Linked DNA regions of Homo sapiens: regions 1, 2 and 4 are each linked to region 3. Evidence: promoter capture Hi-C in 16 types of primary human blood cells and fetal thymus (Javierre and others, 2016). All regions are on one chromosome and are shown on one strand. Each heading gives the region's core, a stretch centred on a gene start or on the middle of the fragment in contact. The rest is flanking DNA. Distances are from core to core; before and after follow the strand shown. Region 1 has its middle 37 kb from the start of ADRA2C. Region 2 holds the start of LOC124900651 (a long non-coding RNA gene). Region 3 holds the start of LINC00955 (long intergenic non-protein coding RNA 955). Region 4 has its middle 14 kb from the start of ADRA2C.

The links. The method cuts DNA at HindIII sites, captures the fragments that hold promoters and counts their contacts. A CHiCAGO score of 5 or more calls a contact.
Region 1: a fragment that was not itself captured here is called in contact with the fragment with the promoter of LINC00955 in region 3 in 2 of 17 cell types (M0 macrophages and endothelial precursors); the score reaches 5.8 in M0 macrophages.
Region 2: a contact is called between a fragment that was not itself captured here and the fragment with the promoter of LINC00955 in region 3, in 1 of 17 cell types (endothelial precursors). The highest score is 5.2, in endothelial precursors.
Region 4: a contact is called between a fragment that was not itself captured here and the fragment with the promoter of LINC00955 in region 3, in 1 of 17 cell types (endothelial precursors). The highest score is 5.5, in endothelial precursors.

What each region holds. Positions count from the first base shown.
Region 1 is chr4:3,800,316-3,807,399 of GRCh38, reverse strand. No RefSeq gene overlaps it. Among named protein-coding and RNA genes, the nearest start is that of ADRA2C, 37 kb to the right of the region's middle. The HindIII fragment of the contact is 2,479 bases long and covers 2,014-4,492 here.
Region 2 is chr4:3,778,457-3,785,984 of GRCh38, reverse strand. LOC124900651 (a long non-coding RNA gene) reads right to left here and starts at 5,168. Exons shown (of 2, transcript XR_007057997.1): 1 at 4,994-5,168; 2 at 2,822-3,365. RefSeq lists an enhancer at 4,491-5,123. The HindIII fragment of the contact is 5,786 bases long and covers 1-4,192 here.
Region 3 is chr4:3,574,966-3,581,797 of GRCh38, reverse strand. LINC00955 (long intergenic non-protein coding RNA 955) reads right to left here and starts at 4,929. Exons shown (of 3, transcript NR_040045.1): 1 at 4,675-4,929. The HindIII fragment of the contact is 6,504 bases long and covers 2,771-6,832 here.
Region 4 is chr4:3,748,542-3,755,377 of GRCh38, reverse strand. No RefSeq gene overlaps it. Among named protein-coding and RNA genes, the nearest start is that of ADRA2C, 14 kb to the left of the region's middle. RefSeq lists enhancers at 1-1,042, 551-1,256, 5,672-6,172. The HindIII fragment of the contact is 3,798 bases long and covers 1,248-5,045 here.

The DNA of each region.
Region 1 (7,084 bases), core at 2,004-4,503, 230 kb before region 3:
AAGGCCAAAGCAGGCAGATCACCTGAGGTTAGGAGTTCAAGACCAGCCTGGCCAAAATGATTAAACCCCGTCTCTACTAAAAAAATAAAAAAAAATTTACCCGGGCGTGGTGGGGGCGCCTGTATTCCCAGCTACTCGGGAGGCTGAGGCAGGAGAATTGCTTGAACTCAAGAGGTAGAGGTTGCAGCGAGCTGAGATCGTGCCACTACACACCAGCCTGGGCAACAAGAGCGAAACTCTGTCAAAAAGAAAGAAAGAGGGAAAGAGAGAGAGAGGGAGAGAGAGAGAGAGGGAGGAGGGAGGGAGGGAGGAGGAAGGAAGGGAGGGAGGAAGGAAGGAAGGAAGGAAGGAAAGAAGGAAAGAAGGAAGGAAGGAGACACCATAATTGATACGAGCTTCATTTGAGCAGATGACAGGGTCAGGTTGGTTAGAAAGAAAACTTAATCTTCAGTTACATTAATAGGAGCAAAGTGTCCAGAATAATGGAGGCGATCATTCAGCTGCACTAGGGGTTGATCATACCATTCTTTGCAGCGTTGTGGTTGGTTCTGGGTCCCTTTAGGTAATCTGTGCCTCGGCCGATTAGAGTGGGCTTATTAGCAATGATGGGGTTGGAAAGCCAGTCTGAAACTGGGTCCTTAGAGAAATGTCTGAAGGAATCAGAGCTGTTTCACTGAGAGAACAGACTCTGGGGACCTAGGAACTGTCTGCAGATTTCTGGAGGACTATCATGGGGCATGCGGAATGGGTTTCATTGGCCCTGAGGCCAGAGTCAGGACCACGCGGTATTCTGTGCATCTATTCTTGCATTAAAAAAATGTGGCTGTGTGTGCTGGCTCACGCCTGTAATGCCAGCACTTTGGGAGGACGAGTTGGGTGGATCATGAGGTCAGGAGTTCAAGACCAGCATGGCCAAGATAGTGAAACCCCGTCTCTACTAGAAATACAAAAATTAGCCAGGCATGGTGGCAGGTGCCTATAATCCCAGCTACTTGGGAGGCTGAGGCAGGAGAATCGCTAGAACCCGGGTGGCAGAGTTTGCAGTGAGCCGAGATCACACCACTGTACTCCAGCCTGGGCGACAAGAGTGAGACTCTGTCTCAAAAAAAAAAAAAGCTTACTAGTGTAAAACCACAATGTATCATTATGTCTTCCAGTTCTGTGGGTTGACCAGGCTCTGCTGGGAGGCTGTAACTTGGGTCTCACCACTGGCTGCAGTGGGGTGTCTGCCAGGGCTGCTCTCACATGGGTGCTCCCCTGGGATGCCCTCCAGGCTCATCACTCAATGCTGTAGCTGAGGCTGGCAGTCAGCTGAGGGCCGCACTGGGGCTGTTGAGGACAGGCCCACACGTGGTCTCTCCATGTGGCTTGGGGTTCTCCGGGATGGCGGCAGGGCTCCAAGAGGGAGTGAGTACTCCGAGATGCCCAGGCAGAGGCTGCTCAGCGTCTTCTGACCCAGCTCGGAGCCCCAGAAAGTCACTGCTGCCATTTTCCACTGGCCAAGCAAGGCCCTGAAGCCAGCCTGGATCCACGCAGGAGAAAGTTTTGAAGGGAGAGGGGCACGCACTGCCAATGCCAGCCTTCGTCAAGGCCAACCACCAGACAAGGAGATGAGGGCCGCAGGGAAACCTGCAGGAGGGGCATCCTTCTCCTTGTTTATTTCCTGCCATTGGCAAAGGCTATCAATGACCAGTCCTGGGGCATCGCAGGGAAGGAGCTGTCAACAGGCCTCAGGCAGACAGGCCCAGTTGCCAACCGGATCCATCTGCCTGGGGCCACCATAACAAACTAGCGAAGACCAGGGGCTTAAACAACAGAAACTGATGACCTCACAGTCTTGAAGGCTGGGAGTCCAAGGTCAAGGTGTGTCATAGTTCACCTGTGTTGCTGTAAAGGACTCCTGAGATTGGGTAATTGATAAAAAAAACAGGTTCATTTGGCTCCCAGTTCTGTAGACTGTACAAGAAGCATGGAGCCAGTATCTGCTCGGCTTCTGGGAGGCCTCAGGAAGCTTCCCCCAATGGCGGCAGTGGGAGAGGAGCTACCTGTGCAGACCTCACATGGTGAAACAGAAGCCAGCGAGTGGGGAGGTGCCAGGCTCTTTCCAACAGCCAGCTCTCACAGGAGCTAACACAGTGAGAACTCACTCCTGACTGCGAGGAAGACACCAAGATATTCATGAGGGATCCGCCTCCGTGACCCAAACACCTCCCACCAGGCCCCACCTCCAACATCGGGATCACATTTCAACAGGAGACTTGGCAGGGTCAAGCCAACCCTATCTAAACCACTGCAGGATGTCACCAAGGCTCCAGGCTCAAGAGTCAAGGCTTGGTGTCTCCCGAGGCCTCTCCTTGGCTTGGAGATGGCCACTCTCTCCTTGCAACCTCATGGGGTGTTCCTGTCTGTGTCTCCATCACCTCTTCTCATGAGGTCTGCAGTCACACGGGGTTAGGGCCACCCTCATGACCTTACTTTACCTTAATTTCTTTTTTTTTTTTTTTTTTTTGAGACAGAGTTTCACTCTTGTTGCTCAGACTGGAGAGCAATGGTGCCATCTCAGCTCACTGCAACCTCCGCCTCCCAGGTTCAAGAGATTCTCCTGCCTCAGCCTCCTCAGTAGCTGGGATTACAGGCACCCACCACCACACCCAGCTAGTTTTTGTATTTTTAGTAGAGATAGGGTTTCACCATGTTGGCCAGGCTGATCTCTAACTCCTGGCCTCGGGTGGCCCCCACCCTTGGCCTCCAAAAGTGCTGGGACTCCAGGTGTGAGCCACCATGCCCAGTCACTTTAGTTACTTCTCTAAAGGCCCCATATCTGCCTACAGTCCTATTCTGAGGTCCAGAGGGCCAGGACTTCCACATGAGGCTTTTGTGGGGACACAAGTCATTCCACAGCACCAAGGGAGTGCGTTTCCTCACGAACAAGGAGAAGGGCCCACGTCACAGAGGCCAGGAGAACTGTCAGCCAGGAAAAGTGTGAGGTGGACATTAGACCAGAAGAGGTTTCAGAGGGTTCCAGGAGGAGATGTTTGCAGTGGAGACTGGAAGAGTGAGCAGGAGTCAGCTGGTGGAGGGGCGGGGGATGAGGGGAGATGGAGGGGGGTCAGGAGCATTTGGATAAACAGGAAGAGGAGGAGGCATCTCTGGTGAGGGGTCTGCAGGGACACACACCTGGCAGTGGGATGTACAAGGTGGGGGCTGTCTCAGGCCAGGAGTCACAGAAGCGGACCTGAGACAAGGGTGACTTCAGGGAGAGCTCCCAGGAAACCCAGGAGGGCATGGCGGGCAGGAGCCCCCGAAAGGGTGTGAACAACCAAGCCCGAGACCCTCCCCACACCTGCACAGCCCCTCTCAGGGGTGGAGGGTGACAGCAATCACTGGTGGGGCAGGAGAGTGGGCAGCTGAGAGCCCACCTGAGAGTGCGGGAGGGGTGGGAGGCGGGATCGCCCATGAACCAAAGCTCCAAACTCTCTATGGGACGTCACTCACAAACACAAAGTCAAAGATAAAATCGTTAGGAATTTCAAGGCGGAGACCTAAAAGCATAAACCCCCAGAACGGGGCCCCTCTGAGCGAAGGGAGGGGTCCTGGGTGAACGCACTGGTCTCACAGAGAGCAACTTTGGAGAGACTGCAGTGCCCATCCCCAAGTGCCCTGACGGGGTCAGGGAGGGAGCTGGGGCATTTGCAGGGCTCCTATCGTCCGGGCTGCCGGGTGGGGGGCTGGGGGAGGAGGGCCACGTCCTGGGCACACCCTGCTCGGTGCGCACAGGGCTGTGGGCTTTCCGGCACAAGGCCGCCCTCGAGCAGGGGAGGCGGGGCTGGCTGTCTGGAGGCTGCACTCTGGGACGGGGCGTGCGTGAAACAGTTCAGAGTCTCTAGAGCATCTGCCGTGTGGCCACAGGAAGCCCCAACATGGGGGGACCCTCAGTCCGGGGGCCACTGCCCTCCTCCTGTTTTCATCCTAATCATGGTCAACCCCTTCATCAAAGGAATCCTGACCAGCCCAGACTTGAGCCCTTGGTCCTGCTCCACCTCCCAGCCTTGGCCGACCCTCAGAGGAGACCCCCGAGCCCCCCACCCTGAATCAGCCCTTGCCACCCAGTGCTGCCACTGTCCCGCCAGACCAGGCATGTCCAGTCCCCGGTGTCCCCAGCCTCCCAAGCTAACAGGACTCTCTGTGGCTGCTGTTCAGCTCAGCTTCCTCAACGCGGGGGTGGGGACAGCCACAAGTCCAGGACCCTTACGAGAGGCCCCGGAAGCCAGTGGGCTTCAGAATTCAGCCTTGACAAAGCCACGTGGTGCCTGTTCTGTGTATTTCACCACACCCATAGGGGGCTGGGCCAGACCGTCCCATTCAAATGAATCCACTGCTCTGCAGCCAAACAACATCCAAGAAATAGAGATCAATCATCAGGCCAGGTTTTGTCACCAAATGAGTTATTAAAGAAAAACACCAAGAAGACATACTTGAAGTGGTCAAAGCTTTGAGGATAAGGACTGGGACCTGTGACGCCCTCTCCAGCCCCTCCCCCAGGGGTCAGCCTTGGATTAAAAGATCCTGGGTGGGCCAAGTTCTGAGCATGCAGTTGGTGCTCACAAGTCAGGGGTGAGACAGAATGTGGCTTGCAAATGGCTTCAGGCTACAGCTGTCTAGGAGAGAAGGCATCAGTGGTCCATGCCTCCCCTGCCCCAGAGTCCAGGACAAAGGTGCTGCTTTGAAAAGGCCTGGGAGGAATGCAGAGGGGGCCCTTATTCTATTACTGCCTGTGGGCGTCTATTTGGTAAGACTAAGTGCCTGCCATGGGTCCTTTGCCACCTTTACCGCTGTTTTCATATGTTCTTCTCCCGTGGAGTTCTACCACCCCCGTCAGAGGCTTGTTTATTGTTGAAGCACAAAGGAGTGGCAGGTGTGACTCGGAGAGAGGCCCAGCCTCACAGCAGGCAGGGAGGGGCCTTCACCTGGGGCTCCTGGGACCCCAGAAAGCCAGGGGTCAGGGAGTATGCAGCAGACTCACGCTTCTCCAGGCTCGGGGGGCCAGGGAGCACGTCACAGAGGCCTCAGCATTGGGGCGTGCCCGCGGCCCGCCCCTGCAGGGTGATGCTGGGTGAGGCGCCCCCCTGCTCTGAGCTTTGGTGTCCTTATCTACAAAAAAAGGAGAGTAAGAATAAGAGGAACAACACATCCCATCCTCCTTGGGGTGCCCCAGGGTTAAGAGATGACACAGAAATGGGAAGAACCATGCGGCAGACTCAGACTCCAGGGCTCTGGGAGAGAGGGCTCTTCACCACCATCTGCTCCATTGACAGGCCAGTCAGCTTGGGGCCTGGGAGGAGCATGGGGATGTGGGGCACTTCCGCTCTGCTGGGGAATGTTAAGCAGCTCTCCAAAGTGGGGGGGCTTCACAGAAAGCCTTCTCCGCTGCCCTTGCTACGGTTGCCAGAGAAAATAAGGGATGCCCAGTTAAACTTTAGTATGAGATGGGCAATGAGTAATCTTTAGAATAAGTATTTCTTAATATTGCATGGGATGTATTTATACCAGAAATGTAGACATTGTTTATTTGAAATTGACGTATAGCTGGGTACCCCGGATTTTTATCTGCTAACTCTGGCCCGCCCATTGTCCAGTCGGGAACTCAGGGGCCGGCAGGGCCCAGCTTCCAGCTACCACAGTACCTGTGCTGAGCAGGGTCTCGATCCTGGGAGGAGTTGGCAGGCAACGTTGTCCCAGACCTCCACCCTGCCCCATGTCTGGCTACATCAGAATTCAAAGATCGAGAACAGAGTTTGGGGTGAGACTGTCTTAGGGCTGGGTTGGCCACTTTAGCTATGGGTCCTCTGGCAAGTGGCTCAACCTCTCTGGGCCTTGGTTTCCTCATCTGCTTAAAGGAGGAGGTGCCGACCTCACTACGGTGCTGTTGGGATAAGCAGCAGCACAGGGCTGTCCTCAGGACCTGGAACTCGGCACACGGGGCCCATCCAGGGACCCAATGGGAGGACCCAATGGAAACCAGACACGATGACATCAGCTCCTTGTAGGATCCTTGTGAGGATGAGCAAAGTCACCTGTGCGTAATTCCTGGATCACAGTTTTGAGTCGTCACCTCCAGGCAAAGGGTGACATGTGTCGTTCATCGCTCATTCACCAGCTACCAGCTTCAGGCACCAGGCAGCTCCAATGCCTGGTCATTGTTTTTGACCGGCTCTTTCCCTAGCAATTAATTTTCACGGGCGGCCGGCAGCCTGTTGCCGACCAACTACTGATAGGAATAAATCAGCGTAGGGAAGATGATGGAGCCTGGGGAAGGCAGGCTTTCCATTCAGATGGAAATCAACTCCCACTCTCCACTCCAGTGCCCTGCCTCTGCCTCTCGGCCCCTCCACAGGGTCATGTTCAGGGAAGGGAGGGCACGGCCCCACCCTCTGTTGGGGCTACCTGCCCTGATGCACCTGCATGGCCCACCAGCAGCACAGTGCCTACCTGAGGTCCACAGAAGTTTCAGGGGCTCAGGAAAATGTTCGAATTTCTTAGAAGTCAGAAGACTAAAATGAACTTTTAGTTTTAGTATGTTTAATTTTAATGTGATGTTTTCCATTTTAGTGTATAATGTGAATATGCACATCTTTCTAAGCTGCTCCACTGTGGTAGACCAGACCTGAGCTCCCTGTGGGCAGGGACATCGGCCCCTCCCTGTGGAACCCCCAGCCAGGGCTCTGCATGCTGCAGAAGGGCATTGCATGCGTGAATGAGGGGCCTAAAGCCACTCTATCAATAGATCCCCTTCTTGCTGGCGTGACATGTGGGAGGAATCACTGTACTGAGCGGCTGGCGGAGCTGTGGCCGTTCCGTGAACCCAAGCCCATCTGAATCCCTCTCGCCCTCACGGCAGAACTGGGAACCCAGGGTTGAGCCTGGCATCGTCTCCAATGTTCCCTGACTTGCTTCGCCTGAGACTGTGACATCTTCAGGAGCAGGTGGTGGCGTCCTCTCCTCCTGCCCCCTGCACCTGGACTGGGGCATAAACTGAAGCACCTACATCCATCTTTCCCATTTCCATATGGGGCTCCACATCCTT
Region 2 (7,528 bases), core at 50-2,549, 210 kb before region 3:
ATCATGGCTGGCCCTGGCTGCCCCTCCTCAGCCCTGAGCATGACCATCGCTTTGTGGGAGCTCAATCCATAACCACATTATGGCCAGGTGCATGGCTCATGCCTGTAATCCCAGCACTGTCATCCCAGTACTTTGGGAGGCCGAAGCAGGAGGATTCCAGGAGCCCAGAGGCTGGAGACCAGCCTGGGCAACATGGTGCAACCCTATCTCTACCAAAAAAATATAAAAATTAGCCCGCATGGTTGCACATGCCTACGGTCCCAGCTACTCAGGAGGCTGAGGTAGGAGGAGGGTCGCTTGAGCCTGGAAGGTTGAGGCTGCAGTGAATCCTGATAGTACCACTGCACCCCAGCCTGGGCAAAAAAAACAGACCCTGTCTCTAAATAAATAAATAACTGAATTGGGCACCTGGGCAAAAGTGAATGCCATAGCCACTTGCAGCGACCTGGGTTACTGCTGGGGGAGTGGTCCTCACATGCCTGCTCAGGCTGATGAGACAGGACCCCACACTCATCGAGTGGGACCCGCAAGTGTCGCTGCCTCCCTGGCTTTGCTGATGAGACCACAGAGTTGCCGGGGTGCTCATATCCAAGACAGAAGCAGGGCTGGCCCCGCCCCCGGCTCCCCCACCAAACCTCTGGAAATTGCACCAAGGCCCAGGTGGGTGAATCCCAGTGAACCGAGAATCAGGCCCAAGCAGCTTGGCATCAACCCCAAATCCCGCCTACTCAGGGCCTCAGTTTCCCCATCTGCAAAGTGGTGCTGTCCTCGCCCCAGCCGATCATGCTCCAAATTCGCAGCTGCTGGAGAACTCTCTAGAGGAGAAGGAACAGCTGAGACACAGCTAAAGCAATACTGGCGTTCACCACAGAAAGAGCAGGTTCCATCCACGGAACTTTCTGGAATCCACATGAGTGAGGCCTGCCTGAGAAGCACGTGCAGGATTGGGGTCTCACCCCTGTGACAGTGCAGGACCCAAGTTGGGCCTATGCGGAGGTTCCCAGCGCCTTGGACTTGGTGCTGAGCTCTGAGCCGGAGCCCGAACCACATTTCCTCTTTGAAGGTTTGCTAGAAATCTCAAAGGTCAGCTGTTCTCATGTTTCCAGAATTTATTGATTTTGTCTGGGCTGGAAAGGCAACAAAAAGGCTTTTATTGCTGTTTCTGTGGCTGCACTGGGGAGCGGGGAGAGGATGCACTGCCCCCTGCACCTGTCCCAGGGGCCCGTCGGCCAACATTCAGGCCCCGAGGGGCCCCCATCGCCTGTCCCAGACTCACCCCACCTCACCCGACCGGCCTGTCCTATTGCGTGTCCTCACATGCCTGTGCCAGCTGATGAGACAAGCCCCCACACGCATGGAGCAGCACCTGTGTCACTGCCTCCCTGGCTTTGCTGATGAGGTGATGGAGTCACTGGGAAGGGCGCATCCAAGCCAGAAGGAAGGCTGGCCCCGCCCCCAGCTCCCCCACCAAGCCCCTCCCCACCCCAAGGCTCCGGGGAGTCCAGCTCAGCCTCCTGGAATGAGAGGAGACTCAGGGGCACTCCGAGTGCCTCTGAGAAGGGGACAGCCTGTGACAAGGGTGGGAGAGGCAGAGACGAGAAAAGGAAGGCGAGGGCATGGGCAGGCCGGGCGCAGGGAGCTCTGAGGGAAGCTGGTGCACTGCTGGCCACCGCCTGAACTATCATTCATTCCCTCACTCATTCATTCTTCACTCACGCATCGCTCCAACCTCCTGGACTGAATTCCCCCTTGTGTGCCCAGCCCCGGCTGATGCTGTCCACCCCGGGAACCGTCAGCCCAGGGCAGCTGTCCGGGAGCCCCTGATCCATCACGGGATCAAGTGCTCCAGGTCCGTGCCTTAGGAAGCCAGGGCCCATCCTTCATGCAGCGGGCAGGCTGCACCCGCAGTGTATTCTAGGCTTAGGATCCTATTCTAGGCGGGTGTAAGGAGGCATTGCCTTGGGCCAGCTGGGTGGGGTCCCTCTTCACCCCCGCCCCGGGGCTGTGCTTGCTCGGGTTGTTCCGATTCTCACCGCCCAGGGCTGGGAGGCGCTGCAGACTGTGCGTGGGCGTCTTACAGGCTAGTGAAGCAGCAGTGTTCACATCCTACCTGGACAGGTCCCCTCGACCCCCAAGCCTTGCTCCTCTCCTATAAAATGGGGGTGCTTCAGTCCCCACCCTCGCCGAGCGCTGCTCTGGGGCCGCTGAGAGGCTGATCCCCTTGAGCTGCCATATATTAGACATGCACCACCAGCTGCTGCCATCATGCCGGGTACGTGGCCCTCCCCACGGAGGACAGAGGACCCTCACTGTGGCTGCCGTGGGGACCTGTGCGGAGGAAGCTGGAGGCTGAGGGGCTCACCCCAGGGCTGCTTTTCCCAGGGGGTCCCAGCTTGGTCCCAGCTCCCTGCATGGGTGGCCTTTGTCTCAGCTGCCACCTGTGACTGAGGCTCCTCCCACCCAATTCCTTTCTCCTTTAGGAGTGTCAAACCTGCATCATGGTCTTGTCACAGCCAAGCCAGCCCTGAGCTCCATCCCCTGAAAGGGCAGCCCCTCCGCAAGCCCCTTCCTCCCTCCCAGCCCTGGCACAGGGCCTGGCATGTAGCAGGTGCTCAGTAAACACTCATAGGTGGAGACAGCAGGACAGACGGGAGCTCTGAGTCTCCTCCCCTGCAGTCTTGGTGATGAGCCCCTGCAATGAAGGGGGGCTGCACTGGGAAGTAGTGAGCATCCCATCATCAGAGGCATGCAAGAGGACCAGGATACCCATTTGAGGGAGACTTTGTAGGCACAAGGGTGAAACATGAATCAGCACAAAGTATGGCTTCTGAAAACTTCTTTCTTGCCTCAAAACAACAATAAAGCCCTATGCTGGGCGCTCCAAGCTCCATGGGAACGCTGCAGGTTGAGCAAGTGATTTGGAAACATCGCAGTCAACAAAGCTGCCGTCTCCCGGTGCGCCCCTTCTCGCTGGGTTCTAAATGAAAGCTGTTCATTAGGGCGACAGGTTTACCATCTTGCAATGAGAATTGCTGGGAGGTTTTTCCCCCTGAGGAGGAGAAATCATGTTTGAGTAGCGAGCACAGTTGCAGGGGACAATGTTTTCGTGGCTGTGGCTGTGGGAAGAGCTTTATTTGGGGATTTTTCCTCTCCGTGTCAGCAGCACAGGAGAAAATGACTCCAGTGAGCTTCGCTGCTGCAGTTTTATGGCACCGCCAGGACGCTGGGTCTGAAATTGTGCCCATTGCTCAGAGCTCAGTATCTGTTCCTGGGAACTGGGAGGCAGCGGTCGCATCAGTGTGGTCTGGAGGTTCCCAGGTTGGGGGCAGCACAGGCCTCTGGCCCCGGCTTCAGCAGATCCAGCCCTAGCACAGAGCACAGCAGAGCCTGGGCTCAGGGGAAAAGTCAGGGTTGGGAGCTAGGGAGGGGCCCACCTGGGGAAGGCTTGCTCACTCACTCGCTCAAGCAGGGGCGGGGCTGGAAGAGGGCCCTCAGGGCAGTCCTGAGCCGAGGACACCACTGCCACCAGGGAGCCAGGCCAGAGGCCAGAGGGAGAACTTTCTCCATACAAGCCAGGTTTGAAGGTGGCGCAGAGGCAGGCTGGGGCTCAGCAGCCGAGAGCTCCATGCTCCAGGGGCACAGACCCCTGCCCTCGAGGCTGTGAAGCCCAGGGTGTGGCAAGGGAGTGCCGTGCAGGGCAGGACACCTGGAGGCAACTATCAGTGCAGGCCCAAGAGACACCAGCCTGCAGCTGCTCAGGGGCCAGTGGGGCTTCAGGGAGGAGGTGGGCAAAGCAGTCTTACCTCCCCTGCAGGGCCGCCTCCCACCTGAACGACCGCCTGGCGGCAGTGTCTGACGTCCCTGTGCAGAATCATCTCTGTCCCCACCGGAGGCCCCTGGGGCCGAGTGGCTTCACTGCAATTTTGGGAGCGTGTGGGACCTGCCCTGGGACCCCCTCTTCGTGGGGCTGCCAAGCTGGGGTATCATACTGCAGCCGCTGGTGGTCATCCCAACACTTTGTGGGCATTCATGAGAAGCAGGAAAGCAGGTGGGCACCAATGAAAGGAGACTGACCACTGACATCCACACACCTGGACGCAGAGGGGACTCCCAGCCCCAGCGTCTCAACACGGTGGCTGGAGGAGTGTGATCTTCCTCCCCTTAGTGCTCCTTCCCCAGCCTGGAAGAAGCTTTCAGGGCCTTCCTTCCACTGAAGCCTCAGTTCCCCCAGAGGGCTGGCTACAGGCTCACGTGGGGCCCGAGGGGAGGAGTTTCATGGGGGGGAGGAGTTTGGTGGGCGGAGGAGTGTCATGTGAGGGGAGGGGTTTCATGTGGGGGGAGGAGTTTCATATGAGGGGAGGAGTTTCGTGTGAGGGGAGGAGTTTGGTGTGAGGGGAGGAGTTTCGTGCGGGAGGAGGAGTTTGGTGTGGGGAGGAGTTTCGTGTGGGAGGAAGACGTGGGGAGGAGTTTTGTGTGGGAGGAGGAGTTTCGTGTGGTGGGGAGGAGTTTCATGTGAGGGGAGGAGTTTCATGTGGCGGAAGAGTTTCATGTGGGAGGAGGAGTTTCGTGTGTGGGGAGGAGTTTCATGTGAGGAGGGAGTTTCGTGTGAGGGGAGGAGTTTCATGTGAGGGGAGGAGTTTCTTGCGGGCGGAGGTGTTTCGTGGGGGGAGGAGTTTCATATGGGGGAGGAGTTTCATGAGGGGGAGGAGTTTCGTGTGGGTCCTGTGGTGCTGCCTGCTGAGGGCATAGACATGTGTCCCTCCATTTCTGTTCTCTCCCTTGGCCCGGCTCAGGCCACGTCCAGAGAAGCCACAGAAACTCCAGTAACTGTATGTCAGCTGAGACCCCAACCCAGAGCCGTGGGCGGCTCAGGGCTCTGGGAGGCAGATTTGTGGGGCAGCTGCCTGCCTCCCTGCAAGGTCCATCCCCGGCGAAGTCACAGCCCTGTTGGGAGGGGCTCCCACTGCGTCATGAACGCTGGTCCCCGGCTCACCTCATGTCGGGGGCACCTGGGGATGGAATTCCAATCCCAGCCCCAGCCTAGATCAGCCCTGTGGCAGGTGCGGGCCGCCCTCTGCTCCCAGCCTCGGCCTCCCACATCCTGGGGGATGACCAGGCGCCTCACCGAGCTTTGGGAGACAGGGTCCTGGTAAAGGGTGCGCAGGGTCTCCAAGCTGCACGACATAGCAGGTGCTAAGCAACTCAGCTGTTGGCAGGGTTTGTTAAGAGAGGTGCAGGAATGTGCTGAGGTCACACAGGGGGGACAGGACAGAGCCAGGATCTGAACCCCCCTCAGGGATAGGCCATTCTAGACTCCTGGCATTGCATGTCACAGGCTGGGTGGGGACCTGGCAGGAGTCCAGGGCCAGCCCTTAGGGCAGGTGGAGCCACAGGGCCTCTCCTTCTCCAGGAGCAGAGGTGCCCCATCCTCCTGCCGGCTGGGGGCTGGGCCGAGGCCTCTGGCGAGCCGATGGGAGATAAGAGCTCTGGCTGGAGCTGTGCAGACAGGCTGGTAGTTTTCCGTCATCCCCGCAAATGACAAACCTTGCAGGAGGCCAGGTTGGGCTGGAGGGTCCCTCCTCCTCACCTCTGAGCAATGTGACCAGGCTTACCTTTCCAGAACCTCTGGGCTGGGCTTGGGAGCCAGTCTCTCCCACCCTCTGCAGGCCCCGGTGGCTATGCAGCCACCCCATGGCTTACTGAGCCTGAGAATAAATTTTAACTGGGGTGCTGCACTTTACAGTTTACAAAGCACGCCCACACCCACCTCCAGGAATCTCCTGCCACCCACTGCCCCTGTGAAGTCCACATCAATATCCACATCTACAGATGGAGAAGTTAAATAATGCCAAGAGGACAGAGGGGACTCTGTGCTTGCTGCTCAATTTTTCTATGGATCTAAAACTGCTTAAAAAATAGTCTATTCAACAAAATGTCACGTAAATGGAGCCAGGGAGCACGTTGACTTTGAGGCGGGCTTCTCTGGCTTTGCGGCTCACCCAGGCCTTTGCAAGAAGTTGCAGCTTGCCCTCTTCACTGCTGAGTAGTATTCCATTGTCTGGAGGCACCTGCAGTTTGTTTATCCATTTACCAGTTGTTTAGGGTTGTTTCCAGTTTTTTGCTATTATGAATAAAGCTATCATGAACATTAAAAACAAAACAAATACTGGCCAAGGGTTGCACAGGTGACAGGCTGCAAAGCCCAGCTCAGCAGGGAACCAGCAAAAGCCATGTGGCTGCCTCCAGAGTCAACATGGCCTGGACCTGCCCTCCGGGGAGCCAGCGCCCGAGCTGGCCTGGCTGCTGCACAGCCATGTGACGGCCACATAACGGCCACCTCCTCCCAAGGCTCCCTCAGTGCAGGCCCACAGGAGGCATGGCCTTGGGAGGAGCTAGGACATGGATCACAGCCTTGCAGCCCACAGACTTGCCCACGGGACAGGCCTCATGTTCCTGCACCACCAGTGGATGGACATCAAGGACCCCTCTCCACGCCCAGAGCCACAAACAATCTTAGATGCTGCACCTGTATCCTCACCAGCCCAGGGACATGAGTGTGGACTGCCCAGCCCTGCCCCTCCCCTGCTGGGGTACCTGGTTATTGCTTGACAGCCCCAAGGCTCACATTTCTCAACTGCAGGGGCATCAAAACCCTCCCTGTAGGCCGGGCACGGTGGCTCACGCCTATAATCCCAGCACTTTAGGAGGCCAAGGCGGGTGGATCACCTGATATCGGGAGTTTGAGACCAGCCTGGCCAACATGGTGAAACCCCGTCTCTGCTAAAAATACAAAAATTAGCCAGACGTGGTGGCAGGTGCCTGTAGTCCCAGCTACTCAGGAGGATGAAGCAGGAGAATGGCTTGAACCTGAGAGGCAGAGGTTGCAGTGAGCTGAGATTGTGCCACTACACTCCAGCCTGGGCGACAGAGTGAGGCTCCATCTCAAAAAAACCAAACCAAAACAAAACAAAACAAAAACCCTCCCTGTAGGGTCAGAGTGAGGCCCCAGCACAGCCATGGGGGGAATGGGCCTTCCCTGACCTGGCTAGCACCAGGCACCCTGCCAGGACTTTCCATGGGCTTCTCAAAATTGCCCCCCACACAGCAGGTGCTGTTACAGGCCTTGGGCTACAGCTGGAGAAATCAAGGCAGAAGAAGGAGGGAACGTGCCCCCGTCACACAGGCCCATGTGGGGAGGGAAATGGACTCAGGAGGTGTCATGGGCCAGGGTGTGTCCTCCCCAAATTCCTATGTAGAAGCCCTGACCCTCAGGACCTCAGAATGGGACTGTGTTTGGAGACAGCTTCTTTAAAGGGGTAATTAAGGTAAACTGAGGTCATATGGGTGGGCCCTAATCCAGTCTGACTGGTGTCTGGTAAGAAGGGGAGATGAGGACACAGACACACACAGAAGGAAGACCAGGTGAAGACGGAGCGAAGATGGTGTCTGCAAGCCGGGAGGGAGCCTCAGGAGAAACCGCCCCTGCCAACACCTTGATCTTGGACTTCCAGCCTCCGGAGCTATGAGA
Region 3 (6,832 bases), core at 3,680-6,179:
GCTGGGTGGGGCAGGGGCAGGCTCTGAGGATCCAGGGGACCATCCCCACCAGGCTGCCCAGAGGACAGGCAGAGTGACCAGCAGGCTCCTGGCACCAGAGGGACCATGGGCCTGGCAGATGGCGGTGGATGGGGACAGTAGGAGCTCCCCACGCCACAGGGTAGCAGCCTTCGGGACAGGCAGGCAGAGGGTCTCAGGTGAACCTGGAGCTGAGAGCATTCAACATGACCACAGGGGCCATGGGGCCGCAGGACCAGGGCAGCCCCGCAGAACGCAGGGAAGATGGCTGATTCTCGAGCCCCATCTGGAGCCAGGGCTGGGGCCGCACCTGAGGGACCCACGCTGGGGGCACAAACAGCCTCTCCCCAGGCCTCTCTGCACCCTGTGCTCCCTGGGAGGAGCTATGGGAATGGGCTGTCTACTGTGCCTTCCAAGGCCAGCTCATTATTCCTGGTCAGTCCCTGCAGCCCAGACCTGGCTCTGTCAGGCCCTAAGGGCAGTGCAGGGAGAGCTTAGAGGAAAGCCCCCAGAGAGACTGGATTCCCTTTGGTGGGGCAGAGGCTGTTCAAAATGGAAAGCCACCCCCTTCTCTTCATTTCTCAGAGCAACACATTCAGCCCCACTTAGCTCTCTTCACAGCCGCAGTAGGACTTTGGTCTGTGTCCAGAACCCCCAGAGGCTACCCCGCCTCAATGCACACACATGTCGGGATGAGCCAGCATCTAGCAGGATGCCTGGCTGTAGCTCAGCATGGGCAGTGTTGGCAGGGGCAGGCCACAGTCCAGGCTCTGCTCCCACACACGCCCACACGCACTGACCCGTGGCCCTCACCAGGAGCCTATGAGGTCGGTGCTCCTTTGTCTCCGTGGACCAATGTCATCCAGCGAGCAAATAGTAGAGGTGGGATTTCAACCCAGGCCATTGGTACCATAGCCCACATGCTAACCACTGTGCTCATGATCACCAGATCACTGTAGGGGGCGAGATGGCAAAGTCAAGGAAAAATGACAGAGCAGAGGGACAGAGCTAGTCTCTCCCAACACTGAGAAGTCAGAAAAGTCTGTGGGTCCAGAAGCAGCTCCCCTTTAGGTGTAGGTACTTTTTTTCTAGTGTCTGCTGCCTACTAGGTCCTTTAATAAATATTTCCTAGGTAGATAGGTGAATGGGTGAATGGACAAGTAGATAAATGGATGGATGGATAGATGATTGGAGGATGGAAATGGGTGGATGAATGATGAATGGATAGGTGGGTGGGGGGGTGATGGATGGATGGATGGATGGATGGACGGACAGATGGATGGATGGATGGAGGATGGAAATGGATGGATGGATGGATGGATGGATGGATGGATGATTGGAGGATGGAAATGGGTGGATGAATGATGAATGGAAAGGTGGGTGGGTGATGGATGGATGGATGGATGGATGGACGGATGGATGAACGGACGGACGGATGGTTGGATGGATGGAGGATGGAAATGGATGGATGGATGGATGGATGGATGGATGGATGGATGAATAAATGGGTGGGTAGGTGGGAGTGTTAAAGGACAGGTGGATAGGAGGATAGAGAGAAGGGAGAGTAAAGGGTAAATAAGTGAGTGGTTGGATGGATGGATGGGAGAATAAGTCGGCATGGTGCTAATGTGATATTTATTTTATGTCCTCAAAGGCTTTTTTTGCACATATGATAGATTATTCAGAAATTACTTTGGGTTTTAAAAAATTAAAATTTGTATGTACTGATGATACAAAATCAGAAACGTATGTTTTTCTCCCTTAAACTATTGAGCCGAATCTACAAATCTTATCATTATAAGTTTAAGAAATCTCAAAACTCTTTCTAAAAGTTATTTCATTAGCAGTAGTTCCTACTACTTAATAAAACACCTTCAAAAACTTAATTACATCAACAAACTTAATATATTAGATCTTGCCTGACAAATATTCCCAAATTAACTAGTTCTTTTAAATTTAAAAACATAACTTCCTAATATGATGAAACTTAGATTCTCTTAAATGTTCCAACATTTTATATAAACTTTATGATTTCAACTGATAGTCATAAGTCTAAATCAAGTAATTCAGTGTATATTTCAAATGTTAATTAAAAGGCCAAACTGTCCCTTCTAATAACCCCAAATCTCTTAAACATCACAAATGCTTATAATACCAAACACGCCCAGATTCCTTCACTCAAAACTATGAATACTGGAAGTTGATACCATAAAACATTTCTGTACCTAATTCTAAATATTCCCTTGGGTTTAAACATTTTTTTTTTTCACTGAGGAAACAACTAAGAGATTTGAGCAGCATTATCTAGGTAATTGGAGGTTAGAAAATACTAGCATTATCAGTCAGTGTACTGATGGTATTTTCATCTACCACACAGACGGGAGTTGCAGAAACCTATTTATGTATTGTTACAGGGACTCCAGATCTTAGAGTTTGGTTTTGAGCCCTCGACCCCATATAGAACTTGATCCTGTTCCTTTCATGCACATCTATAAACCCCACCCAGGGGGTTCAAATGGGTTTTGCATTTATCAGACTTCTCCATGATTGGCATAGTCTTCCTGGTGAGACCTGGAGTGTGGCTCCCAGACACCCAAACTTGGCTGGAGTCCTGAAGCAGGCGCAGCTAATCTGGCTGATCTACTCCTTCACACTCGTGGAGCAGATGGGGAAACAGACCAGAGGGGCAGCCCAGGAAGCAAATTTGGATGATCCAAATCTCAAAGCTGAGTTGGAATCTGTGGACAAAGCTTCTAAAGTCATACGAGTGATGTGTGGTGTTTGGATGGATGGATGGATGGATGGATGGATGGATGGATGGATGGATAGATGGGTGGATAGAGGATGGATGATGGGTCTTTGGGTAGATGGGTAGATGGGTGGATGGATAGGTGGGTGGACCACAGTCTGATGGGTAGATGGGTTGATAGGTGGTTGTTTGAGTAGGTGGATAGAATGGATGGATAGAAGTTTTATGAGGGTATGGGTGAATGGGGAGTAGTGGATAAGTAGGTGAAGCAGTCAATGGGTAAGTGAGTGAATGTGTAGGAGGATCATGCATGAATGGGTGAGTGGATGTCATGGGTATATGGGTATAGGAGAGGTAGATAAGTATGTGTACAGATGGGCAAAGGGAAGGATGTGGGCGTGTTATGGGGTGGTTGGGTAGGTTGACGGATGGATGGGTGGATAAGTATTGTGTTACATGGGAGAAAACAAGTTTAGTTAGGTTGATGGGTGAATGGATGAGTGAGTAGTTGGATATAGACATGGAAGCTGGCTAGCTGGGTGGATGGATGATGGGTGAGTGAATGGATGGGTGGGTGATGAAAGAAAGGGAGGACGGATGGGTGGATGGATGGATGAGTGAGTGAATGAATGGATAGGTGGGTGAATGGAATAGGTGGATGGATGGATGGACGGATGGATGGATGGATGGATGGATGGATGGATGGATGGATGATGAAAGAAAGAAAGCATGAAAGGATGGGTGGGTGAATAGAATAGGTGGATGAATGGATGGATGGTTGGAAGGATGGATAGATAAGTGAATAATGAATGGGTGGACGAATATGTGGATGAATGGATGGATGGGTGGATAGATGGATGATGAAAGAAAGAAAGGGTGAATGGATGGGTGGATGGGAGAGTGAATAAATGAATGGGTGGATGAATGGGTAGATGGATGGATGGGTGGATGGATGAATGAATGAGTGAGAGGATGGGTGGGTGATGAAAGAAAGGAAGGATGAAAGGGTGGACGGGTAGGTGGATGAATGTATGATAGGATGGAAGCTGGCTGGATGTGGGGGTGGATGAGTTGAATGGACAGATGGGTAAGAGGGTGAGTAAGTGGGTGGATGGTGAAGGAATTAATAATGTTATTATTATAAACATTATTATTATTATATGAATAAGTTTCTGGTTTAGAAGACTAGTATCCTTCTGAGAGCTCTCTCAGAGTGTCAGGCTCTACAAATTTGCTTCCTTGGGCTGCCCCTCTCTGGGTTGTTTCCCCATTTGCTCCATGAGTGTGAAGGAGTAGATTGGCCAGATTAGCTGCGCCTGCTCCAGGGGCCCAGCCCAAGCCCAGGTGCCTGGGAGTCACACTCCAGGACACTCGACCCCTGCCCTCTGGGGCCAGGGTCAGCAGCCTCTGGCCAGACCCCTCTTCTTAAAACAAGCTCAGGTAGGGAGAGAACACTGCCCTGCTGGTGGTTGCCATGGAAAATCCTTCATTGCTTGTTTTTCTCCTCGACTGATTAAGAAAAGGGAGTCATAAAATGACAGGGCGTCACTGGGCCTTGCCGCTGGCCAGCTTTGACTTATCCCCTGACATTTCCCAGGAGCCAGCTAACCTTTTCTGCCACAAATAGACTGAAGCGGGTCCCTTGAGGCAGTCTAGCCTGAACAGAGTCCATCTCAGGGGAGGTCAGGACCCGGGATACAGCAACAGGAGCCGGGTCATTCAAATAACCAGGAAGGAGAGCAGACAGTGCTGGGACCGAGAGCACAGCGAGGACCCTAAGGAAGCCACCAAAAAACAGCCTTCGCAACAGTCAGGACTGCTGTCAGGACCACCAGGCAGAGCCCAGGGAGCAAACACCTGCTCTCCCTCCCTGGGGTCCCCGCTGTGTTCCCAGGCATGACACTCACCTCCCAGAGCAGCAGCCTGGCCTCTGCTCCTCTCCGGGCAGAAACGACACAGGGATGCTCCCCAGTCAGTGTGCTGGGGTCCTAGGGGCGTTGGCGACGCCGGGGCAGGTTCCACCATAGATCCTGCTGCCTCAATCCAGAGGGCTTTCGGAAGGCGCCCCTGCTATGGCATCGCAGAGGGAGGAGACCCGGGATGTGGCCCAGCAGGGCTGTGTATACACCAAGATGCCTCCGTCTGCCCTTCCAGCTGTAAATCAAGACTCAGCCGTGGAGAGGGAGGATAAAGTCCACAGGGGCTGAACCTCCTCCCCAGCCCTGGTCTCAGCCTCAGGATAGAAGACTTTAACCCCAGAAGGCCCTCAGGAGGCCAGGCAAGCCAACACCCTCGAACCTGTGCCACGATGGGGGGCGATGGGGCGAGGACAGAGCCTGGAGTCACAGACCAGGAAACTGGGTTGCCTCAGCTCACCCAGGGTCCCAAGGCCAGGACAGGGCAGAGCCGAGACCAAAGTCCCTGCGAGGCCGCCCTCATGAAGGGACTCGGGAGGGTTCACTGGGTGAATGGATGAGCCTGTACAGTGAATGAAGGCCGAGCCCACGGCTGGGAGCTGCCATCCCCGGCTTCCTCTGAATACAGACAGCCTGATGCGCAGGTCTCAGATCTGGAAGGGGGCCTGGGCCCCTTGACCCCATCTCTTCATTTACTGCTGGGGAAACCGAGGGCCAGCCTGCCACAGTAATGCCGTGGGTGCCTGAGTCATCTCCTCCTCCTCCTCTTCCTTCTCCTCCTCCTCCTCTTCCTCCCCCTTCCTCATCTCCCCCTTTCCTCCTTCTCTTCCTCTTCCTCCCTTCCTCCCACCCGTCTCCCTCTCCTGAGCCCCAGCTCTGCTCTGCCACCAGGCCTTGTCCCTTTTAGGGTCCAAAAGAGCAGGTCCTGCCCTGGGGCCAGTCAGCATGAAAAGGGATGACCATCTCTTCCTCCAGAGGACAGGGACTCTATGCCCCAGGCACTCCAAGGTCAAACCTGGCTCCCACTCAGACTATGAAGACAGCATCCACTGGGTCAGAGTCATGAAGCCACGGGTCCCAGGGGACAGCTCAGGTGGCCACAGGGCCAGACTGGCAGGCTGCCCTCTGCCTCCTGTTAGCACAAACACCCCTCCCCTCAGGCCTGAACTCTGACATGAGCCAGTGGGCACCGGGCCCTGTCAGGAACAGGAGGAGGCCACAGCCATCCTCAGGAGAGAACAAAGGACACACAGGCCTCCGGGGAGAGCAGTGGGTGGCAGTGACAGGAGGGGCTACTCAGAATTCATGAGCGAGGGCCAGGCAGCTTGGCCACCTTGGAGGAGCCGCTGCACCTATCCAAGCCCAGGTTTCCCTGCTGAAGGCAGCACCGGTGTCTCCTCCTGGGGGTGTTGAGAGGGTCATCCCAGGCCAGGGAGGTCGAAGGGCTCTGTGAGCTGTGAAGCGCTGGGCACCTGTGGGGCGGGGGCGTTCATCCTGCGGTCAGTCTGCCCTGGAGGGCGGAACACCTACGCACTGTTCCAGCGGGAGGGGTATGGCGTCCAGTGAGGCCCAGCTCCCCGAGCCTTTCCTGATGGCACTGGAAGACAGGCAGCATCCCAGAAACATATAAAAGGCCCAGGGGCTGGTGCTGGGGGCACATGACCGGGGCGACCCTGGGCTGGGCTGTGTACCCCCGGAGCACTGCAGCAGACAGAGCAGGGGTGCGAACTCCAGGGTCCCAGGATCCATCTCCTTCCCTGCAACAAACCCCTCTCTGCTGGAAATCCCTGGAGCGGTTCCTCCATCCTGCTCTGAACCTCCTTGACTGATCCCACCGACCGGTGCACTGCACAGCTGCCTGGAGACCAGAAGATTCCATACGTCTCCCTCCACCTGCCCAACACCCACAAGCCCAGGAGGCTGCCCTCCATAATTCTGGCTTTTCTGCGTATTTTTCAAAGCACAGGGCACTGGAAGAATGCCTGCATGAGACATTCTTGCAAGCCAGAGCCCGCTGGAGGCATGCAGGAGAGCAAAACCTCCCTGCTGTGTCTGCAGATTTGCACACATTTCTGGGAAATAAACCTGCGGCCCCTCCTCTCCCCGAGACGTTGGTTTATCTTCCAGGGCAAAAGGATACCGTCTTTTC
Region 4 (6,836 bases), core at 1,897-4,396, 180 kb before region 3:
GCAAAGGGAACAGGAAGGTTCCCTTTGCTGAGCAGGGGGTGCCTAATGTACATATTCAACAAGCTATGGAAGGAGTCATGAATATACATGAAAGGAGAAACACGTGCGTGCACTTGAGCTTCCTGCCTCTCCATAGGACCCACGTTCAAGACACGACAATGGCAGCATGACCTAAGGGTGGAGTTTTCCACCCTCTGATGTGGAAAGGTGAAGCGGAGGACACGGAAACCCTTGCTGTACATCCCCCGCCGACTGGCCAGAAGCTCTCTGTGGCCCGTGGTCTCCTATCAGGAAGGAACGCTGGCTGGTTGCTGTGTCAAACTCGCACCAGGGAGGGGCAGGTCAGGTGTTGGTTGAAACCAGGGCGGAATCTTTCGGAAGATCCGGTTTCTCTGCAGCCCTTAGAGGGGAAGCCCAGTGATGGTTAGCAAGGGAGGGAGGGGGTACAACGAGGTGGGTCCCACCTCCCTCACATCACGGTGGGAACTCAGCTTCCAAGGTTTCTCTGGGGTCCCTTTGGCCAAGGGGTGTTCTGCTCAGTCTGTTGGGGGTCTTAGGATTTCATTTTTATTTCTCACGACAAAGGACGTGAGAGCGCTCTCTGCAAAGTGTGACGTCCTTCAGGGATGTATTTGCCTTTTCTCTGGTTGGAAGGTGGTTGGAGTTGGGGTCAGGGCTAGGGTTGGGATGTTGATGGGGTTGGGTTAGGGTTGGAGTAGGGTTGGGTGCTGATGGGGTTAGGTAGGGTGAGGATTAGGGTCAGGGTTGGGGTGCTGATGGCATCAAGGCACAGTGGAATTGGAACGCCGACCATCACCTGTTCCTCTGCCAGCTACCAGCCTCCCGCATCCCTTTCCTTACTTCCCTCTGCCCAGCCCCTGACCTCCTGGCTCTTACCTTAGTCTGGTGCTCTATAACCTTCTGACGCGCTGAGGGACTCACCCCAGGACTCAGTTTATCTTGCTGACAAATGAGTGGGTTGGCTCTGATTTCTCTAAAGGCTCTCCCACTTCTAAAAATTCTAATTGGGTGGGATCTTCTTCAAGTGAGCAGGAACTATCAGCTATTGTTATGCAGGAACACAGGAGTACAAAGGTACTTTCGAAATAGAGCCAGAACAAAAGATGAAGTAGATTGCATCAGGCTCGGTATTATACTTAGAGAAACTATTTAAAAACCAAAGTACTTTTGAGTGCAGTGTTCATTGGAATTGCCCTGGGAAACTGTGTTTGACTCTAACAAAAGCTTTGTATCGACAGGATGTGTTATCGCTCAATTTCTAGGAAAGAGCGGTAATTAGATGCCTCACACCAGATATTGTTTCAATTGCAGGAAATAAAATACAAATCCTGCGAGGAGGCACATTCCTCCTTTTCATGACCGAGGAGGCACCCTTCCTGGTTCCAGGTCACAGGACCCCCGCCTGCCGCGGTCTTGGAGGTCCGCCCCTGCCTTCGTAGCTGGGAGGGAAGGGAGAAGGTGAAGTGCAGGTGTCTTTGGGAAACTTACAGCACCGGCGGCAAGGCCCGCCAGTGCCCAGGAGGGGAATTCCACCGCCCCCACGTCCCCTGCCCCCCACCAGCCAGCCCTAAGCGCCAGGCCTCGGGGGGCAGAGGGACCACAACTGCATGCCTCAGGTGCCATTCTGCCCCTGCCCCATGCACTCCCCCAGTGTGTCGGGGGGGCTGGCCATGGGGCATTCGGCCTCAGGGGAGCTGCCTGAGCCCAGGCCAGTTGGGCCTCGCCAGGAGGGACCTTCCAGGGATCTCCCTCGCTGTTTGGGCAGGAGTGCAGCCCAGCCAGGAGCCCCCAGGGGTGGCTGGGAGCCTGTGCCCCTCCTCATGCCTCCTGCCCCACAGGTGCCACTCCAGGAGACCAGGCTCTGCTCTGTCCCCGTGCCCCCCCAGTGCCCTCCCACAAGGGTGCCTCAGCACAGAATGCCTGTCCCACCCTGACCGTCTTGGCCTGCTCTTCTTTAGCCGCCAAGAACAGCCCAGCCATCTCCTCCAGGAAGCCCTCCTGCACCCCTGGAAGGGTTAGATCCCCCCTGGGCTCCTCAGGACGCCTGAGGGCTGCCAAGGCCCCAGCATGGGGATGAGGGGACGTGGACTCATTCTTTGGCTGCCTCTTGTGCCCTCCGGGGCTACTCAGGGGAGGGACCTGGGACCAGCCCGGGGTGGGATCCTCAGGAATGGCTGGCAGGTGGGTGCGGAGGTGGGGAGAGTGGGCATCCTCAGTCCTGCTTGCTCTCAGGCAGGTTCTGGGCTGAGAGTGGCCAGGTCAACCTCCTCTCTCCTCAGCCGGCAGATGCAGCCAAAGGTGCCAAGGGAGGGGGTGTAAAACCTGCAGGAGTCCCCCAGGTCAAACTGCAGGGTGTGCCGAGCCTCAGGGTTCCAGGGGACAGAGGTGGAGGGGCCCTGGGCTGGGGCATGAGGTGACCGGCCTGGTGGGAGGGGACAGGGACAGGGTAGCCTGGCTTACCTTGCTCCTGATCTCTCTACCTGGGCCTCTTTTTCCCAACTGTTCCCCTGGCTGAGATTCGAGGTGTGGGACAGAGGTGGGGTACGGTCTCCCCAGAGCCCTCCCTGCCAGGCCAGGCTCAGGCAGGGCTGCCACCCTCTTGGGAGGCCTCCAGCACTGCTGGGTTCCCCTAGGCCCTGGCGTGGTGCCGGCCCTCACCATTGCCGACTTCCCTATGGGGTCCCTTCTCCCTTGCTCTACACAACCTACCACCGTCTTCCAGGACCCTGCAGAACCCACCCCGAGTGGAGAGTGGTGCAGGCCCCTCGCAGGGTTCTTGGAGACACCAGGCGCCCGGCTGTGTTCCTGCCGCACACCCTTACTGTGGGAACTGAGCCGGCCTGCCATCCACCTCCGGTCCCCAGCAGACCTGCTCTGCAGGCTCAAGCGGGGCCAGCTCCCAGAAAGGAGGGAAGCCCCAGCTGCCCAACCCCAGCTCACATCCCGAGGCTGCTGTGGCGGCATTCAGTCGTTGCTTCAATTTCATTATCAGTCCTGCCAGGGAGCATTCTCTGGTGGAGGACTCTTCCCAAGTGACCAGGCTGCTTCCCTGGGTGGGAACCTCATGCTGTTTAAATATAAACAGTGGAGTGTGCATGAGGAAGGCCAGCACTCCGGGCCACCTATGGGGAGTCCAAGGTCGCAGGTGCTATCTCCCCACATCTGTGCCTGACTTAGTGGAGCATTTCCATTGACCGCCCCGCCTTGGTGACTGGCACGGCAGCTGGCTGCCTGCAGGCCAGCCCACGGCTGTGCTAAGCTCCCTGGCCAGGCATCTCACCTGCTCTTGGGGTTCCTGAGAAAGCTGCAAAGGGACAGGATCATTCATGAACAAATGTGTGTGGCACGACCCTCCTGCTCCCACCTCTGTGTCCAGAGTGGCTGCCCGAGGCCTTATGTCTGCAGGTGCAGGGCCGCCCTGGGCCATGGCCAGATGGACCACGGGCCACTCAGTGCAGCTTCTCCTCTGCTCTCCCCTGCACTGCCCGGGCGCCATCGCCTCTTGCTGGGTTCTGCCAACCAGGAGCACTCAAGTGGGACTCGGGAGGTTTGGAAGCTGAGGGCATGGTCCTGTGACTGCTTCTTCACCAGAGGGGGGCAGACACGTGGGCATGTCCCACCGGCTGTGACTGCCTGAGATCTACTCTTGCTGGTGACGAAGGTGGCGGCCAGGACCCACCTTTCCTACAGCCCCTGACCCTGATCATCATTGCTGGCCCCCCAGACAGTCCCTGAGCATCAGGTCCATGGGGCACGTTCTGGTGTCAGCTGGGAGGGGGACAGAAAGTCAGAGACTAGTGAGGAAGAGGAGCGAGGATGGGTAAAATAGAAAGGCAGGACAGGGCTAGATGGTGCATGGCCCTGACCCCTTTCAACAGTGCCTAGTGGGCAGGGCGGGGCAGGTGACACACACACACACACACACACACACACACACACGCACATGACATGGCTCTGCAGGGCTCAGGGCCGTGGCAGCAGGGGCCGGGGCTCTGGGCTCATGTTTGCTACGGGAGACACGCTTGGCATGTAGTGAAACCAACCAACAGGTGGAAGGGAGGCAGCGTGGCGTGCGGGGTGATGCAGGGCCCAGGCTCTCCGACTCCACCGGCCTCGGGCTGGGGTTTCACAGACCTTGCCCATCCACACACGCTGACGGCTGACGGCTGTTTGTTGAATCCCCACTCCTGGACCACAGGCCACTCTGTCTCTGATGTTTCCAAAGGGAGCTGAGCAAGGCCCGCCCCATGGGATGGGCACGCTTCCCATCGGGACCGGCATTCATGTGGGTTTTGGAAAATCTGGGCCCTTGTCTCATTAAGCCATTAGGAGTGGGTAGCCATGGAAACCATGGTACTTGGGTACTCAACACGAATGAATATTTATTCAATTAGCAGGGCCGGGGTGCTAGGCGGACCTGGCTCCAGCTGTGACTGGATGGTGGGGGCTCCCAGGAGCAAGAGCCACCTTTTAGAGGGCAAACCACGCCCAGGAACTTCACCTACATGATCTGATTAATCTTTGCTGTGACCCCTTGAGACAGTCACTGCTGTCCCGTGGTGTGGAAGAGAAGGCTCAGGAGAGCCAAGCAGGACATGAGGCCCAGAGGGTCTGCCCAGGAGACACAGCAAATGGCCCTTCCACCTCTGGGGTCCCTGGGCTGGCAGCTGACAGCTCTGTGTCTTGGTTCCCCCGCTCGATGGCCGTGGGTCCTCCAGCAGCTCACTTGAATTCCCTGTGCCCTCGTGGGCCGTCTGGGTTGGGCCCAACCTAACGCCTCCTCAGGTTGCTGGTGGAACTGGAGGGGCCTGTGTGTCCTGTGCCTGGCCCAGGGCCTGGCACACAGTAGGAGCTCAGCCAGTGCCAGCTCCAGCTGGAAAGAACAAGGAGAGCCCGGGGCTACCCAGGAGCACGGAAACGTCCCTGGAGGCTCTTCCCAGTGGCACACGGTGCTGGGGGAGTGGGGGCAGCCTCTCATTCTCCTGGTCTGATTCTGCACTGCCCGGCTGGTGCTTCTGGAAGCTTTGGGGACTCATTCACGTGCCCTGCATGTGGGGGCGTGTGTGGGTGTGCACCCACGTCTACATATGTTGCTCCAGAAAGGCAAGGCCAGGGGCCACCCTTTTTCATGAGACACGGATGGCTTTGCAGATCTTGGTTTTTCCCTTCTGTCCCTGCTGCTGCAGCTGGCAGCAGTGCACAGCCTGTGTCTGTTGTTTGCATCTCCCTGCCTCCTGCACACATGCAGGGCCACAGCCTTTGGGGATCAGACCCTCTGGGTCCTCTGCCTGGTCCTGGTGCATCTCCCACCCCCAAGCCGCTGGTACTGCTGGGCCCGCCACTTGGTTTGGTAAAGCAGCTGCACACGTTTGTTCAGGAACAATGCTGTCCCTGGCTGCTTTCCCACTGCAACGCAATAGCTGAAAGGCAGAAGCCACCCAGATGTCCGTCATCAGGTGATGGATAAACACAGTGTGGTCCATCCATACCACAGAATATTATTCAGCCTTGAAGAGGAAGGACATTCTGACACAGGCTACAACATGGATGACCCTTGAGGACACCATGCTCAGCGAAATCAGCCAGTCACAGAAGGACAAACATTATCCAATTCCACTTACATGGGATTCCTAGAGCAGTCAAATTCATAGAGACAGAGAATAGAAGGGTGGGTGCCAGGGAGGCCCGGGAGTTGTTTAATGGGGACATCTTCTGGTTTACTGAAAACATCCTGGAGAGGTTTGGTGGTGGTGGCTGTGGGACACAGTGTGGATGTACTGAACACTCCGGAACTGGTTTAGATGGTAAATGTTATGTTCTGTGTATTTGACCGCAATTAAATTGTTTTTAATTTTGAAAAAGGAAAGCCTTCTGCATCTCAGGTGGCAACTGGGTGCTGGCTCAAATGCACTCCCTCTGAGCGAGCTTCTGGGGGCTCGCTGATAGCACAGCCACCCCGCCCAGCTCGACCTGGAATGCAAGGGCCCTGGAGCGCTTGTTAGGGATCGCCTATAGCCGAGCTCCACCGGGCGGGCATCCAGGGGATATGAGGGGCCACAGCCTGCCCACTCCACTCGCCCACTGGAGAAAGTCTGCGAAGGGTCAGTGTGGGCAGCTCCCCCTACCCAGGGCGGGGCTCAGTTTGAGGCACCATGCTCCCTGGGCAGTGCTCTGAGCTCTGGGCCCAGCCACCCAGGGCACCAGGCACCAGGGCTGGGCTCCTGCCTCTGCCTGCCCTTTCTGCAGCTGCACTCTGGTCTGGCTTCCCCAGGGGAGCTACAAGGGAGGGTCCCAGACTCTCTGGAGCTTTGGGGACAGCCCCCAGGAATCTGCACAGCAACAGGCTCCCTGGGGGACTGCCATCCAGGTGGGCCGAGAGACCACCGTTTGAGAAGCTGCTTCAGAATTCCCAAAGCTTTGTCCTTTTCTGATTTCACTTCATCCTCACCACAGCCCGGCAAAACAGGTATCAAGACTCCCCTTTAAAAACTTGACAACTTTATTGAGGCATCATTTATAGAGCACACATTTCACTTCGCTGCCGTGACGATCTGATGGAGTCTGGTAAATGCTTTATAAACTGTGAAGTGGTGTGCACACACGGGGGTTCGTTATTACAGCAGATTATAATTGTTATTACTGTACAAGCTTTATTATTATGATGGTGGGGTGTTCTTGCATCATTTATCTCAAGGGTTCCTGGAGGGGTAACTAGGTAGGGGGCATGAGTTGGCCGCTTTGCAAGATTTTTGCAAACAGCAGCGATTTGCTTGCATGCGATGTCTGTGTGCCTCACTTAGACACTTTGGTGGAGA